Linked DNA regions of Homo sapiens: regions 2, 3, 4 and 5 are each linked to region 1. Evidence: promoter capture Hi-C in 16 types of primary human blood cells and fetal thymus (Javierre and others, 2016). All regions are on one chromosome and are shown on one strand. Each heading gives the region's core, a stretch centred on a gene start or on the middle of the fragment in contact. The rest is flanking DNA. Distances are from core to core; before and after follow the strand shown. Region 1 holds the start of TMEM267 (transmembrane protein 267). Region 2 holds the start of LOC124900972 (a long non-coding RNA gene). Region 3 overlaps ZNF131 (zinc finger protein 131). Region 4 overlaps ANXA2R-OT1 (ANXA2R overlapping transcript 1). Region 5 has its middle 14 kb from the start of NIM1K.

The links. Contacts are between HindIII fragments. The CHiCAGO score rates a contact against its expected background, and 5 or more counts as called.
Region 2: a contact is called between a fragment that was not itself captured here and the fragment with the promoter of TMEM267 in region 1, in 4 of 17 cell types (total CD4 T cells, activated CD4 T cells, non-activated CD4 T cells and 1 more). The highest score is 6.4, in total CD4 T cells.
Region 3: a contact is called between a fragment that was not itself captured here and the fragment with the promoter of TMEM267 in region 1, in 1 of 17 cell types (total CD8 T cells). The highest score is 6.0, in total CD8 T cells.
Region 4: a contact is called between a fragment that was not itself captured here and the fragment with the promoter of TMEM267 in region 1, in 4 of 17 cell types (naive CD4 T cells, total CD8 T cells, naive CD8 T cells and 1 more). The highest score is 5.8, in naive CD4 T cells.
Region 5: a fragment that was not itself captured here is called in contact with the fragment with the promoter of TMEM267 in region 1 in 1 of 17 cell types (activated CD4 T cells); the score reaches 5.1 in activated CD4 T cells.

Annotation. Positions count from the first base shown.
Region 1 is chr5:43,482,487-43,485,186 of GRCh38, forward strand. It overlaps TMEM267 (transmembrane protein 267), which reads right to left and starts at 1,379. Exons shown (of 3, transcript NM_022483.5): 1 at 1,336-1,379. It overlaps C5orf34-AS1 (C5orf34 antisense RNA 1), which reads left to right and starts at 1,433. Exons shown (of 3, transcript XR_007058763.1): 1 at 1,433-1,515. RefSeq lists a silencer at 1,234-1,464 and enhancers at 1,410-2,253, 1,519-1,708. The HindIII fragment of the contact is 3,795 bases long and covers 1-1,778 here.
Region 2 is chr5:43,096,301-43,099,000 of GRCh38, forward strand. LOC124900972 (a long non-coding RNA gene) reads right to left here and starts at 1,193. Exons shown (of 2, transcript XR_007058762.1): 1 at 1,108-1,193; 2 at 1-487. The HindIII fragment of the contact is 4,508 bases long and covers 1-2,700 here.
Region 3 is chr5:43,150,391-43,153,090 of GRCh38, forward strand. All of the region lies in intron 4 of ZNF131 (zinc finger protein 131), which reads left to right. Among named protein-coding and RNA genes, the nearest start is that of ZNF131, 31 kb to the left of the region's middle. The HindIII fragment of the contact is 9,324 bases long and covers 1-2,700 here.
Region 4 is chr5:43,015,285-43,017,984 of GRCh38, forward strand. The region is part of intron 2 of ANXA2R-OT1 (ANXA2R overlapping transcript 1); the gene reads right to left. Among named protein-coding and RNA genes, the nearest start is that of FLJ32255, 23 kb to the left of the region's middle. RefSeq lists enhancers at 354-403, 2,190-2,429. The HindIII fragment of the contact is 2,115 bases long and covers 195-2,309 here.
Region 5 is chr5:43,177,177-43,179,876 of GRCh38, forward strand. No RefSeq gene overlaps it. Among named protein-coding and RNA genes, the nearest start is that of NIM1K, 14 kb to the right of the region's middle. The HindIII fragment of the contact is 3,514 bases long and covers 1-2,700 here.

The sequences.
Region 1 (2,700 bases), core at 129-2,628:
ATATTCACTTTTGTTGATAAGGTTCCTTAAGAGTAGTGATCTCTTTTAAACTTGTCATGTTTAAAAATCCAGTGTGCTCAAGGTATTTAATAAATATTCCATTTTACTAATACAAGAGATAATCACATAATAAATCCGCAGCCTATGAACTAAAGATACTGTTTGGGATAGCTTCTCTGACATAACTGACATATTATAAATTCCTCCCTATGACTCGCAGAAGCCATTTTCTGCAATGGCCAAACTTTGTCACACCCCATCCCCCTTATAGCAAATACCACTAACTTTGGGGCCTTCAGAGTATACATAACAGTACTTTTCTCCTTCCTGAATTCCACAAACATATAATTAGCTGGTCACTTTAATTATACGCTATCATGTATTGTTTGCTAATAATCTCTTAGACATTATTTCTGTCAAAACAAATAAGAGCTGATACATTCTCTAAGTAAGTGTCATCTGTTTTAACTTTCCCTCTTCCCCACCAACCTTACACATTATATGCAAAAACCCAAGGTCAAAACACGGTCCAAATTCCAGAAACCGCCTTTATTATGCTTTACCAGTAAGTCTTCTTCACTGAACTGTAGTTGCTGTAAACTTAATATATTTAATTTCTTTAATGGAAAAATATCAAAAGCAGATGCCAAATCTGATGCAACTAACTGACAAAGGAAACACAAATCTTGCTTACTTTCACTGAAACTTTTTATAGCCATCAGATGTCTGCACTTAAAATGTTTAGTTCCTATGCCCATTACGAATAAAACAAAATTCTGTATTTCAACATGTTTCAAGCCTCAGAAGTTCCCAGACATCCTTTTCTGAGTCTGGTGTGATGCAATAATTTTTCAAATGTCATTTAAAAAAATGGGCCAGGCTGCAGGGAAAGGACCATGTCACACTCTCAGCATTCAAGCCTCAAAGGCTCCGGGGCACGAAAGGCTCTTACAACCGGTTAAGGACGGCAATGGGCTCCTTCGGCACGACTCCCGGAACCCCACCCTGGGCCAGAAAAAGGCCAGGGGCGCGGAGCGTAGGCGGAGGGCTGGGGTTCTAGGGATCTAGAAAAAGCGCGAAGCCGGAGGGCGGCGCCAGGGCTCCTCGCAGACCCCAGGGCCGCGGGACGGTGCCGGCTCGTGGGTCACACGCACCCAGGAGGCTCCTGGCTCCCGCGTGGCGGCTGTTCCAGCACGCCCTCCGACCCGCAACCGGACCCTCCAGACATCAGACTCAGTGGTCCCCCACCTCCGGTCTCCCACCTCAGGACGCAGTTCCGCGGCGTCCACCCGGCCCCCTCCCCTCAGTCCCACGCAGCGGCTCAGCCATACCCACCCCGGCTTCTCTGAGTTCAATCCAGCAGCAGCTCGAGCAGCGGCTCCGCCCCTCGGTCGGAGCCATAGAGACGTCGGCTGCCGGCCAGAGTGGCCTCAGACCGCAGCGTCGGCCGAGAGGACGCCGGGATACTGGCCAGCTCCAAGTCGAAAGGAAGCGACGCATGAGTTGTTTGGTGCGGTGGGTAGATACCTCGAGTTTCTCCTCGCCCACCGTAGGCCCCGACCCCTAAAAAGGAAACTTTTGGGACGTCAGAGTGAGAGGAGAAAAGTGTCTTTTTAGTTTAGTTTTGTCAAACCTGAGGATTCGTTTTTCAGTTTAGCCGGAGCTGTGCCGCAAACGTAGCTGCCGACATCCCCACGACGCACCCAAGTGGTGGCCCGGAAGCTGGGGATAGAAAAGTGGCCTCCCCGAATGCCAGGCACACAGGCCTTACTACCAGAAGCTTGAGCTGGGAGCCTCGGCCGTCGCATCTCTAAGGTGCAGCGATACGGCCAACTTCCTTCCGCGAAGCCCTCAGGGTGGGCAACGGAGCTTTTCACCAGACTGAGGGACCGGGCGACCTGGCCGACCGGCGGCTCCTCACCGCCCCCTTGGGGATTTCTTGATAATTCTTTGCCACGATGCGGGCGGATGTTGTGGAGCTACTGTTTGTAGATCGCAGTAGCGTGACAGCACTTAATCATGACTACTAAATCCTCAGAAGTCGAAAAAGCAAGTCCATACAGAATAGTTTGACCCTAATTAAATTGCGCTTACAAGATACAGTTTGTTTACTGGGACTTTGGCTAGGTCCCATCCCGTCTCTGCCTCAGAGTGGTGGTTGCTCTTAGCACCAAGGAAATACCAGCTTGACATTTGACTCTAGGAAGCACAGGCCCAAAAGAAGAGGCCCAAGGAGGGACATTCTTCTTTCCCTTTCCTACCTACAGTTTCTCAAACCAAGTGTCAGATGGAAAGCAAGGGGTGGTATCATCGTAATTATACAGTTGACCATAGAAAATAAATTTCAATCTCAAAGTAAACTCCTAGGCCACCCCCAGAATCTTAGAGTTTCTCAATCATAGAACTCATTTCTTGTCACAGTCTTGGTTCTTAGCCAATGTAAAACACCCAACTGACAGGGAAAATTAAACACCTTTTAACTCCCACACACCTTAAATGAGAATTTAAAGTATCTTTCAGCAAATGTATTTATAATTTTGAGTGCTTTTAGCCATGTTAAGGACAAATTTTCTCCTTCTGAATGCAGTAATAATTTGGCATTACCCTTTTGGCAGTGTGGTACAAAGTCTTATAATCTAGGCTTTATGGAGCTATTGAGGAACAACATAGATGGCTTCATGCAAACCCAAACAATGTAAT
Region 2 (2,700 bases), core at 153-2,652, 390 kb before region 1:
GATCCAGCCAAGTGAGGCAGTTAGGGAGTGCATTGGCAGGGCTCAAGGGAGGCTGTGACTTGGGGGCATCTCTGGGGGCATCTGTGTCTCCTCCTGGGTTGCAGTCATCGGTTCCTAGGTGGGTGGTTCTGTGCCCAGCCTAAAGGTGCTAGGCACTCTGGGTTCTTGTCTCAGGTGGGCCCATTTCAGAAGTCCACAGGAATGGGAAAGCAATTCAATGTCCTGGTGGTCCCAAGAGAGGTGACCCAGCTTTGGATAGAAAGCAGGCTGCCAGGGACTTGAATCCTCTTGTACACTGGAACATGCTCTACAGAATCCCAGGCCTCAAGCACAAGTTGTTGAAAGTGCTTCACATCTGTCCTGTTTCAGGTGACAAAGGATGAGTGCCCTTTTTTGTGGTCTTCTGGCTGATTAGGCAGTCCCAAGCAGATAGGGGCAAGCTGGGTGGTGACAGGAAGCCCAGAGCTGATCGCAACAGAAGAATGGCCTGGTGTTATAAACATAAAAGCCAATCACCTTTGATGAAATTTTCTAGAATGAAATCCTTTTGGTGACAGACTGGGTTAGAAGTTGAAAAGAAGAGTATTAGCTTCCTAGAAGGAAGCTCTTTTGGGGGACACTGGCTTGTAGTATGCTGCATGATTTGGGGCATGATTATTGCCCCAAATCACGTAGGTAGTTCTGAAACCCAGGTCTCTTAGCAGAGGAATTCTTGGGGAGATGCCTAAGGAATGGTTTGGGTTTTGGATTAGAGGTGGGGCAGAGATAGTTGTACATTCCTAACTTGGACTTTCACAAGCCCAGTTTTGGCTTTTACTGATGAATTGCTAAGTTAGAAGGATTTCAGAATGTGTGTGTATATGTGTAATAGCAAGAAGCCAAGTTCTCTGGCTGGCTGACTCGGTTATTTTATCATCTCTGAAATGGAAGTGAAATTTGCTCTCATTTTACAAGGTAGCTTTCATGAAGGCATTCCATATAAAAGTGAATATTCAACATAGCATAGCAGAAAATAATTTGGTCAATTGCTATTAATACTAATATCATTATTATTGATTTTATCATGGATTCAAAGATAAAGTAATGAGAACAAATGTAAAACGGTACCTTTCTTGGAGTATTCTGTCTGAAAGTAGATTATGTTTCCTTCTCATATCATAGCCATAATGAAATTGTATTGTAATACGTTTTCATCTGAGTCAAACATTCTGTTTGCAAAAACATCAAGGGGTATGAGAACTAAAAATAAAATCCTAAGGCCTCCAACCAATTGAATGGACCCTCTATTGGCCAAGGGGACCCCAGAGAAACCTGAGTTCCTAGCTATGACAAGACAGGAGGTCAGACATAGCTTGTTATACCTACTCCCTTTTGCAGTTTAAACATGACTGACTAGCATTATTATTACAATAGGGATCATGAGACTGACAGAACAGACTCCTTATAGCATTAAGACACCAAACTATAAATGAGACCTAAGGCTGTGCCAGGCAAGGGTTGAATCACACATCTCTACACTTAAAAAACAAATTATGTTCTAACTACCACAAGGTTTTTTTTTTTTTTTCTAGCAGCTAATCAAGCGCTGGCCTCAAGATAATCACTATTAAAACCATTACAGTTCATCCATCGCCAGACAGTGACTAACTGAGGCCCTTGTTCCACAAGCTATAAATGCAGCTTTGATTGGACAAGAGACTGATTTCAGTAACTTTCTCCTAATAAGAAGACCACCAGCATGCACTGTTCACAGAGGCTGTGCACTTGAGTGCCTTCGTGTCCCTGTTTCACCTTTTGACATATATGGCCTAACTGTAATACATTTGAATGTTGTCTCCACCCCAGAATGAATATGGGCTGTATGTAACAGGCATATTTATTCAGTACACATGCATTAGGAACACATTCATGAATATTTATATGCCTCCTGTAACCTGTTGAATACGTATACTTGGTCAACCCATTCAACATAAATCCCTGTTCCACCCTCCACTTCCTCAAAGTGCCTGCTTCTGTCTTTGGCTGGGGACTACACTTTCCAGCCTGTCAGAATAACCACCCTACAGGCCATAACACATTATAAGAAATAAAATTAAGTCTGTGCATGGTGGCTTACATGTGTAATACCAGCACTTTGGGAGGCCAAGGTGGGCAGATCACTTGGGGCCAAAACCAGCCTGGAGTTCAAAACCAGCCTGGCCAACACGGCAAAACTGCGTCTCTACAAAAAAAAAAAAAGAAAGTTGTCCGGGGACAGTGACTAACACCTGTAATCCCAGCATTTTGGGAGACTGAGGCAGAGGGGTCACCTGAGCCCAGGGGTTTGAGACCAGCCTGGGTAACATGGAGAAACCCCATCTCTACAAAAAGCACCAAAATTAGCCAGGCATGATGGCACATGCCTGTAGTCCCAGCTACTAAGGAGGCTGAGGTGGGAGGATCTCCTGAGTCTGGGGAAGCTGAGGCTACAGTGAGCCATGATTGTGCCATTGCATTCCAGCCTGGGTGATAGAGTGAGACCCTGTCTCAAAAAAAAAAAAAAAAAAAAAAAAAGAAAAGAAAAGAAAAGAAAATCTCCTTTCTAAATTAATAATTGTGTGATTCTTTTAAGTTGACAGATACAAATGCAGATTTTTTTGGTCAAATATCATTCTTACTGTAAAAGTCTGATTAGTTTCAACATTTCACAAGCATGTGTTG
Region 3 (2,700 bases), core at 6-2,505, 330 kb before region 1:
GAGTTGTCTTGTTCCATATCCTTGTTTCTGTATTATCCTGGCTGGTACTGAATTTTCCCCATAAGTACAGCACTTCTTTAGCCGCTCTGATTAATCTGACCGTAGGGACCAGGACCTGGCTGGGTGCGGTGGCTCATGCCTGTAATCCCAGCACTTTGGGAGGCCGAGGCGGGCGGATCATCTGAGGTCAGGAGTTCGAGACCAGCCTGGCTAACGTGGTGGAACCCCATTTCTACTAAAAATACAAAAAAATTAGCTGGGCACGGTGACACATGCCTGTAATCCCAGCTACTCAGGAGGCTGAGGCAGGAGAATTGCTGAGGCTGCAGTGAACTGAGATCGCGCCATTGCACTCTGGCTTGGGCAACAAGAGTGAAACTCTGTCCCAAAAACAAACAAAAAACACAGGGACCAGGACCTAATCCATTCAGTTTTTCTCCTACTGGATTTATTTAAGGATTTATTGAAGTCAACAGAACTTCAAGCAGCAGGATTTGGGCACCCTGCCGTGTTGACCTTAATCATGCACCCACCACACTAAGGTTCATTCTGGACTCAGCCAACTGAACAAATCCCTAGAAAAACAGGTGACTTTCTTTTTCGGTTTCTGTATTGACTTTTCCACTTAGCCCTGGGCATTAGTCTAAGTATAGCAAGATGCTTTACAATTATACAGGCTCCACATTGTCCCATAGGGAGGATGTCTACTAGGGCAAGTTTTTCATTCATAATAAACCTGGCCCCAGTGGCTTGAAGCTGACATAAATGCCTTCCAGAGCCCAAGTGATATCAGTGAACATATCAGCTTAAGTCATGCACAATGTTGTACCACTTTTTTAATTGGATTACTCCTATTAGGGAAAACTGCCCACGGGATGTGCATAAATAAGTCAGTTATTATTCTAGGAAGCATCCCTTTGAGAATTTCTAACCAAGAGTATCCTTAAATGAGACCTCCACAGTCACCCGAGGGCTGCTTGATCTTCCTTAAACACTTGATGGTCTCTTATAACCACCTCTTAGGTGTAAGTCGTCATTTTGTTTCGTTTTGTTTTGTTTTTTTGAGACGGAGTCTCACTCTGTGCCCAGGCTGGAGTGCAGTGACGCAATCTCAGTTCGCTGCAACCTCTGCCTTCTGGGCTCAAGCAATACTCCTGCCTCAGCCTCCCTAGTAGCTGGGATTACAGGCACCTGCCACCTCACCCTGCTAATTTTTGTATTTTTGGCAGAAATGAGGTTTCTCCATGTTGGCCAGACGGGTCTCCAACTCCCGACCTCAAGTAACACACCTGCCTCGGAGTCCCAAAGTGCTGGGATTACAGGGACGAGCCACCGCGCCTTGCCAGTCATCGTATTTTTGTGAGGCAAGGAAATTAGTACCTGGCTTCCACACAAGAAGCACAGTCCCAGGGGCACATAGGAACCCTGAAAGGAAAGTACTATTTGCAATTGTTCGTGCCTCCAAAGTAGGCACGAACCTGCATCAGTGTAGAGGCACAGATTGATATAGCCTCCAATGTAGTCTCCTTTCCCAGTTCAATTAGAATGATTCAGTCTAGTTCTAGTTTTTGGAGAGACTGAGGACAGGACAGTCAGTTGACTTCTTTCCTATTTATTTATTTATTTATTTATTGAGATGGAGTCCCGCTCTGTCGCCCAGGCTGGAGTGCAGTGACATGATCTTGGCTCACTGCCTCTACCTCCCAGGTTCAAGTGATTCTCCTGCCTCAGATTCCCCGGTAGCTGGGACTACAGGCACGTGCCACTAGGTTGAGCTAACTTTTGTGTTTTTAGTGGAGACGGAGTTTCACCACGTTGGCCAGGCTGGTCTCGAACTCCCGACCTCAAGTGATCCGCCTGCTTCAGCATCCCAAAGTGCTGGGATTACAGGTGTGAGCCACCACTCCCAGCCGAGTCTGTCCTATTTATCACAAGCTCCTGAATGCCAGCTGACTTGAGTAGTAACTGTCCACCTCATGGACTGATCTCAGCTATGAGAATGGTAGTGGAGCATGGTGTTTTGCCTGCGACACACAGGAGTCATCCCCAGCTGTTTTTAGAAGATATGTTGGTAAAGTTAAGGGAAACCACTTGGCAGGGAATGGCAAACACAGCAGTCAGTTTAAAAATGCTTATAGCCATTGGAGAGACCTGCAACTGAGCATTTTTCTTAATTTGAAAGGTTCTAGGGGCAGTTCTGAAAGACAAAGGTGGTTTGTTTTGTTTTGTTTTTGGAGACAGGGTCTCACTGTGTCACCCAGGCTGGAGTGCAGTGGTGCAATCACAGCTCACTGCAGCTGTAACTTTCCAGGCTCAGATGATCCTCCCACCTCAGCCTCCCAAAGGAGCTGAGACTGTAGACATGTGCCACCATGCCCAGCTAATCTTTTATAATTTTTTGTGGAGATGGGGTCTTACTATGTTCTCCAGGCTGTTCTTAAACTCCCGGACTCAAGCGATCCTCCCGCCTCAGCCTCCCAAAGTGCTGGTATTATAGGTGTGAGCCACCACACCCAGCTTGACAAAGATTATTGTCCCTCCCTGCCCTATATCTTCTGGAGTCGTAAGATGTTTCTCTCCCTAGATGGCAAGATTGTCATTCCTCCTTCACCTCTTTTCCAGTCATCCCCTCCTCTTATGCAGACCTTTCATCTGGTAAGGTCAGGTACAAGAAGGGCAAGGACATTTAAAACTTAGAGA
Region 4 (2,700 bases), core at 2-2,501, 470 kb before region 1:
TTCTGTGGAGGAACTAGGAGGAAGAACATGTGTGGAGGTGCATTGGAGTGGTAGTCACAGGGCTCCCCTGCACCTTGCAGGGTCTAGTGGATCCTGCGGTTTATAATCTATCAAACATTTGTAGAGAGTGTTTTACAAAACAAACAGACAAAACAAACAAAAAAACAGACACAAAACCCTCTAAGTTACAGGTAAGCTTAGGACAGGCAGGAAATTGGGAGGGTGAATCTTCAATCCCAGAGACCAACAGCAAATGGTTCATTTTTTGTAGGTGAACCAGAGGCATGGTGGAGCCCTCCGTTGGCACCAAGCAGAATTCTTCACTTTCTTACTCTAGATTACTTACCCTGGGACATTTTTGCCTTTTACTTTCTGTCTAGACTCCTGCATGATCTTTGTTTTTACCTGCTCTACTACAGTTATAACTGTTACCATCTTTTCTGAGCCTAAAATCAAGAACCAATACCTGACAAAGAAGTAGATTGTTAAAACCAAGAGTTTCTCTGTATCAGGAAAGTATTCATATGAATTCCTGCCTCCTAATTTATTAGTTGCCCAGCTTTCTGCAACATACCAACTGACCAGAAGATTCACCTGTACACACCACCTGAGTGTTGGGGACTTTTTCTTTCTTGGCCCTCCCACCTCCCACCGTTTTTCTGTTTTGTGTCACTTTCATTTGGTTAATAATATTCTAACAAGATTTGTCATTATAGTTATCTTAGTTTGATGAGATTTTTCTTCATGAAATTGAACAAAAATATCAGTCTTTGTTAATTCTTTATTATTTATTGTTTCGGATGACACAGCAGGAAGGGAAATAGGAAAGGCTCTACATCATTTGTCGTATGTGCTCCACAATTTGCCCTCAAGTTTGAATCCTAGGTCCTACCACCCACACAAAACTGCCATTGCCAGCCTGCTCAATTCTACCCAATCTCTAGCCATTTTCATACTGCAAAGTTCCTATGACCTCCTCCCAAGGAGCTCAATTCTGTACTTTACCTCTTCCTGACCTCCCTGGAATCCACCCCGCCTCCAACCACACTGTAATTAGAATCTGAATTCTGCAACTACCTTGATGTTAGTCTCTGTAGGGGAGCAGCCTGCAGCCTCCTATGGACTCCCATTAAGACAGGATATTCCTTCCGTCTAGGGGGTGCTGATTGCAACTTTTTTGCTAAGATGAAAAGCTGGAGTCGAAATGAGAAGAGAGGAGTTGTGGCAGGTATTTTGTTTTGCAATGGCTCCAGACTGCTCTTCCGTTTGATAAAGTGGCTGTAACTATGTGGGTGGGAACAGTGCAGTTTTTTCTTTATTCTCCCACCCACAAAACCAGGAGGAAATTGGAAGGGCCTCAAATACCAGGGAATGTTTTGGCTAGCTGAAGACGGGGTAAGGTGGGAAGGAGATATTGAGGCAAACATCTTGGGAGAGGGTGAGAATTACAAGGCCAAAATGGATTTCCTTACCAGGCAGGCATATCTCTGCCTTTGTCCTGGCATGGCCTCTACCTAGGATGCCCCAGGGAAAGGATAGTTTGGTTTGCACAGGAGCAGCAGTGATGAAAATCGGAAATGATGAGTGTGGTTGGAGATATTTGTGGCAGGGTTTGTAGGTCTCTTTGAGGGGGCTCAACTCACAAAGTGCAGATTTTTATTAAAATATAAATGCTTGTGGGAAAGGACATTTTCCTACTGAGCAGTGGCAGTCCCATATTTCTTCTCAGATTTAAAAAAAAAAAGGCCTCAGTCTGAAAAGTGAGGAGATGGAGGATTTGAGCACTTACAAGTTCACCTGCATTGCATTTCCCAGAAGATAGAAATCAATGATGCATTTTGAAGATCATGCTGCTAGAGACAGAGAACCACAACTTGAGCTTTTCTCTGGGCTTAGAGAGGAGGTGTATGTCTCGCTGTCAATTCTACATCCAACGCTGGAATCTTTCAGCCCATTTTCCTCCCCGGCTGTTTTTGAACTACTATCCCCAAATATCGAGGATATCTGACAGAGTGAACCATCAGAATAAGGAGCGATTGCCACAGAGTTCCATCCAGTAGGGGAGGGACTTGATGTGCGGGGCAAGCCTGATGCCCGGGTCAGGCGACTGTGCCTTTCATTCTCCACGGAGATCTTGAACCTAGAGTTTCCAAGTTCCGAAGAGATGCGGTTGTCGACAGCTCTCCTAGAATCTCTGATGGCTCTGAACGGGGACAAAGGTCTAGGGCAGAGGGATGGTGTGGAAGGACCCAGCCACGGCCATTGGAAGAGCAGTTTCCTGCAATGTAATGCTGTTTGCGACCAGCATAAGCTTTAGCTCTCTCCCAGGACGAGCCACATCCGCCCCATTCACGGTCCTTATTCCAGCTCCTTTCCCTCTGCGAATCACACTGGGTGGGTCGCTGGGGGCCTCGGTAATTACGGATTATGGCACAGCCAAGAAAAATACAGGTTTTCTTAAGCCTGAAGCCACTGACTTGAGGGGGGAGAGTAGGAGTAATGCCAGCAGCAGTTTTGTATTTGGTTTTTGTTTTTATATTCTAGTCTCTAGGCCACAAGACAATGTTGCACCCAGTGCCAGTCGATCCGTCACGGCGCCGCAAACTTTCCCTGAACGGAGGGTTTGTGGCTGACATCTCTAGTTTCTCAGAGCCTGGGAGTGATCACTGGCTGCACCGCTGATGGCGCCCAAAAGAACGC
Region 5 (2,700 bases), core at 124-2,623, 310 kb before region 1:
ATAGAAGCTATCAGTGTACCCAGAATGCCAGTAAATTTGATTGCAAAAGTAGAGGAAAACTATCTACTGGTGATAAACTGTATGTTGAATAACATTTTGTAGTTGGAAAGCACTTTATGTAGAACATAAAACAGCTGTTAACAACTGATGTATATTTGCTTCAAGTACTGAAGCAAACTGGATATTTAGTCCTCCAGTGTTCTACTGTATTTGTACTGGAGTTTTAAGATAAGTCTACAGTATGAGGTACCAAGTTGGACAGTAGAGTGTGCAATGATGATCACATAGAAATAAGTCCCAAGTGCACTGAGAACGATGAGAGGCTTTTCTATCTCTACTCCGTTTCAACAGCAATTCTCAGACATCAATTGGGTGTCCAACAATTGAATCTGACACCACCCAGATTTAGAGCAAGTTAAGTGCTCAGTACCACAAAATTGCCCCCACTTCAGACACCAGCCACAAATGCGATCAACAGGCTACCCGCGCTTCTGCCCAGCCAACCGTAAATTTAGGGTTCTTATGGCCTTCCCATCCCCCCAAGTTCAATAATGCATTGAAACAACTCAGGAAAGCACTATACTTAACGACTACAGTAAGTATACAATTCAGGAACAGCCAAATGGAAGAGATGCATAGAGTAAGGTGGATGGAGGGGGTTGTGGAGGAGAATAGTAGAGGTTTCTCTGCCCTCACTTGGCATGCCACTTTCCCAGCATGTTGATGTGTTCAACTCAGAAGCTCCCTTACTGACATTTTATAACCTAGACTCATTAAATTATTGGCCTCCGGGCTCAATCTCCAGCCCCTCTTCTCCCTGGAGGTCTCGGGTGGGGGTAATAGTTGTAGCCCTTTAATACAACTGGTTCCTCTAGTGACCCGTGCCCATCTTGAAGCTATCTAGGGGCCCTCTGCCAGTAGTCATCTCATTAGCATAAACTGGTAAGATCAAAAGGGGCTTGTAATGAATAACAAAAGACATTCTGGAAATTACAAGGATTTTTGGAGCTGTGTGCAAGGAACCAGGGAGAAAAACCCAAATCCATTTTATTTGTTTTGTTTTTAGACAGTTTCACTCTTGTTGCCCAGGCTGGAGTGCAATGGCACGATCTCTGCTCACTGCAACCTCCACCTCCCAGGTTAAGGCGATTCTCATACCTCAGCCTCTCGAGTAGCTGGGATTACAGGCATGCGCCACCATGCCCGGCTAATTTTTTTTTTTTCAGTAGAGACGGGTTTTCACCATGTTGGTCAGGCTGGTCTCGATCTCTCGACTTCAGGTGATCCACCCACCTCAGCCTCCCAAAGTGCTGGGATTACAGGTATGAGCCACCGTGCTTGGCCTATTTTTTTTTTTTTTTTAATTACACCACACCTATCATTTGAGATTGAAAGAAAAACTAAACTGAATACATTAGCAATACATTTAAAAGCTAGACATCTTTTGGATATGTACAAAATCAGAAGGCTCTTGTAGTCTTACCAGTTTAAAAAGGCTACCTGGCTGGACACGGTGGCTCACGCCTGTAATCCCAACACTTTGGGAGGCCAAGGTGGACAGATCACCAGTTCAGGAGTTCGAGACCAGCCTGGGCCAACATGGTGAAACCCCCATCTCTACTAAAAATACAAGATGAACCAGGCATGGTGGCGGATGCCTGTAATCCCAGCTACTCAGGAGGCTGAGGCAGGAGAATCGCTTGAACCCGAGAGATGGAGGTTGCAGTGAGCTGAGATCGTGCCACTGCACTCCAGCCTAGGCCACAGAGCAAGACTCTGTCTCAAAATAAATAAATAAATAAATAAATAAATAAAAATAAAAAGGCTACCATACTCAGATAATACTGAATGTAGGGACATTTTCATGAGAATTTGAATGCTTCTGCTCCCACTAGTTTGAACTTGGAATTAAAGATGTCATTATTGGAAGGGTCCATGAAAGTTCTCTGGACTAACTACCCATTTCATAGTTTGAATAAGCCAACAGGCTTATTAAGCCATAGAGTGAGGCCTAAATGTAGATACCTTTACCAATCAAGTGGATTTTAATTCGCATTTTCAATTTAACATGGGTTGGTTGTTTTAAACAAGTGATTCTATGATCATTAAACTAGTCACACAAAAAGTATTTTATAACTCTTAGATGCAAAATTACAAACAAATGCCTGACCTAGAAAGTTTAGTCTGATTTTGTTGGAGAAAACTAATAGCTTTGAATTCATTAGGTTAACACTGACCTTTGTGTTAATTACATCAGGAGAGGGAGATCTAGATTGTTTTTCTTGTGTAATCTGCTGAGCTGTGCTATACCTCTTACAGGATTTGTCATGAAGAATTCAAATGAGAAGAAGGAATTAAACCCTCATCACCCCATCAGTTAATAAAATCCTTCATAGTTAGAAGCCTAGATATTTATTACTTTAAAACCCATAAAAAACAAACAAAAAAAAACCAGAGGCTGTCATAATAGTCTGAACTTCTTAAAACTCTACTCCCTGCCCTGCAAATGTAACTTCATTAATTCTATTGACATGGTAAAGAAGGCAGCATGTGAATTCAATCTTTTTCTCTTCGCCCTTCCTGCAATTCAATCTTCTCTTTGCCCTTCCTGCAACCCAACATGTCCCTATAAATATTTTTTTTTTTTTTTAGACAGGGTCTCGCTGTGTCACCCAGGCTAGAGTGCAGTGGCACAATCTC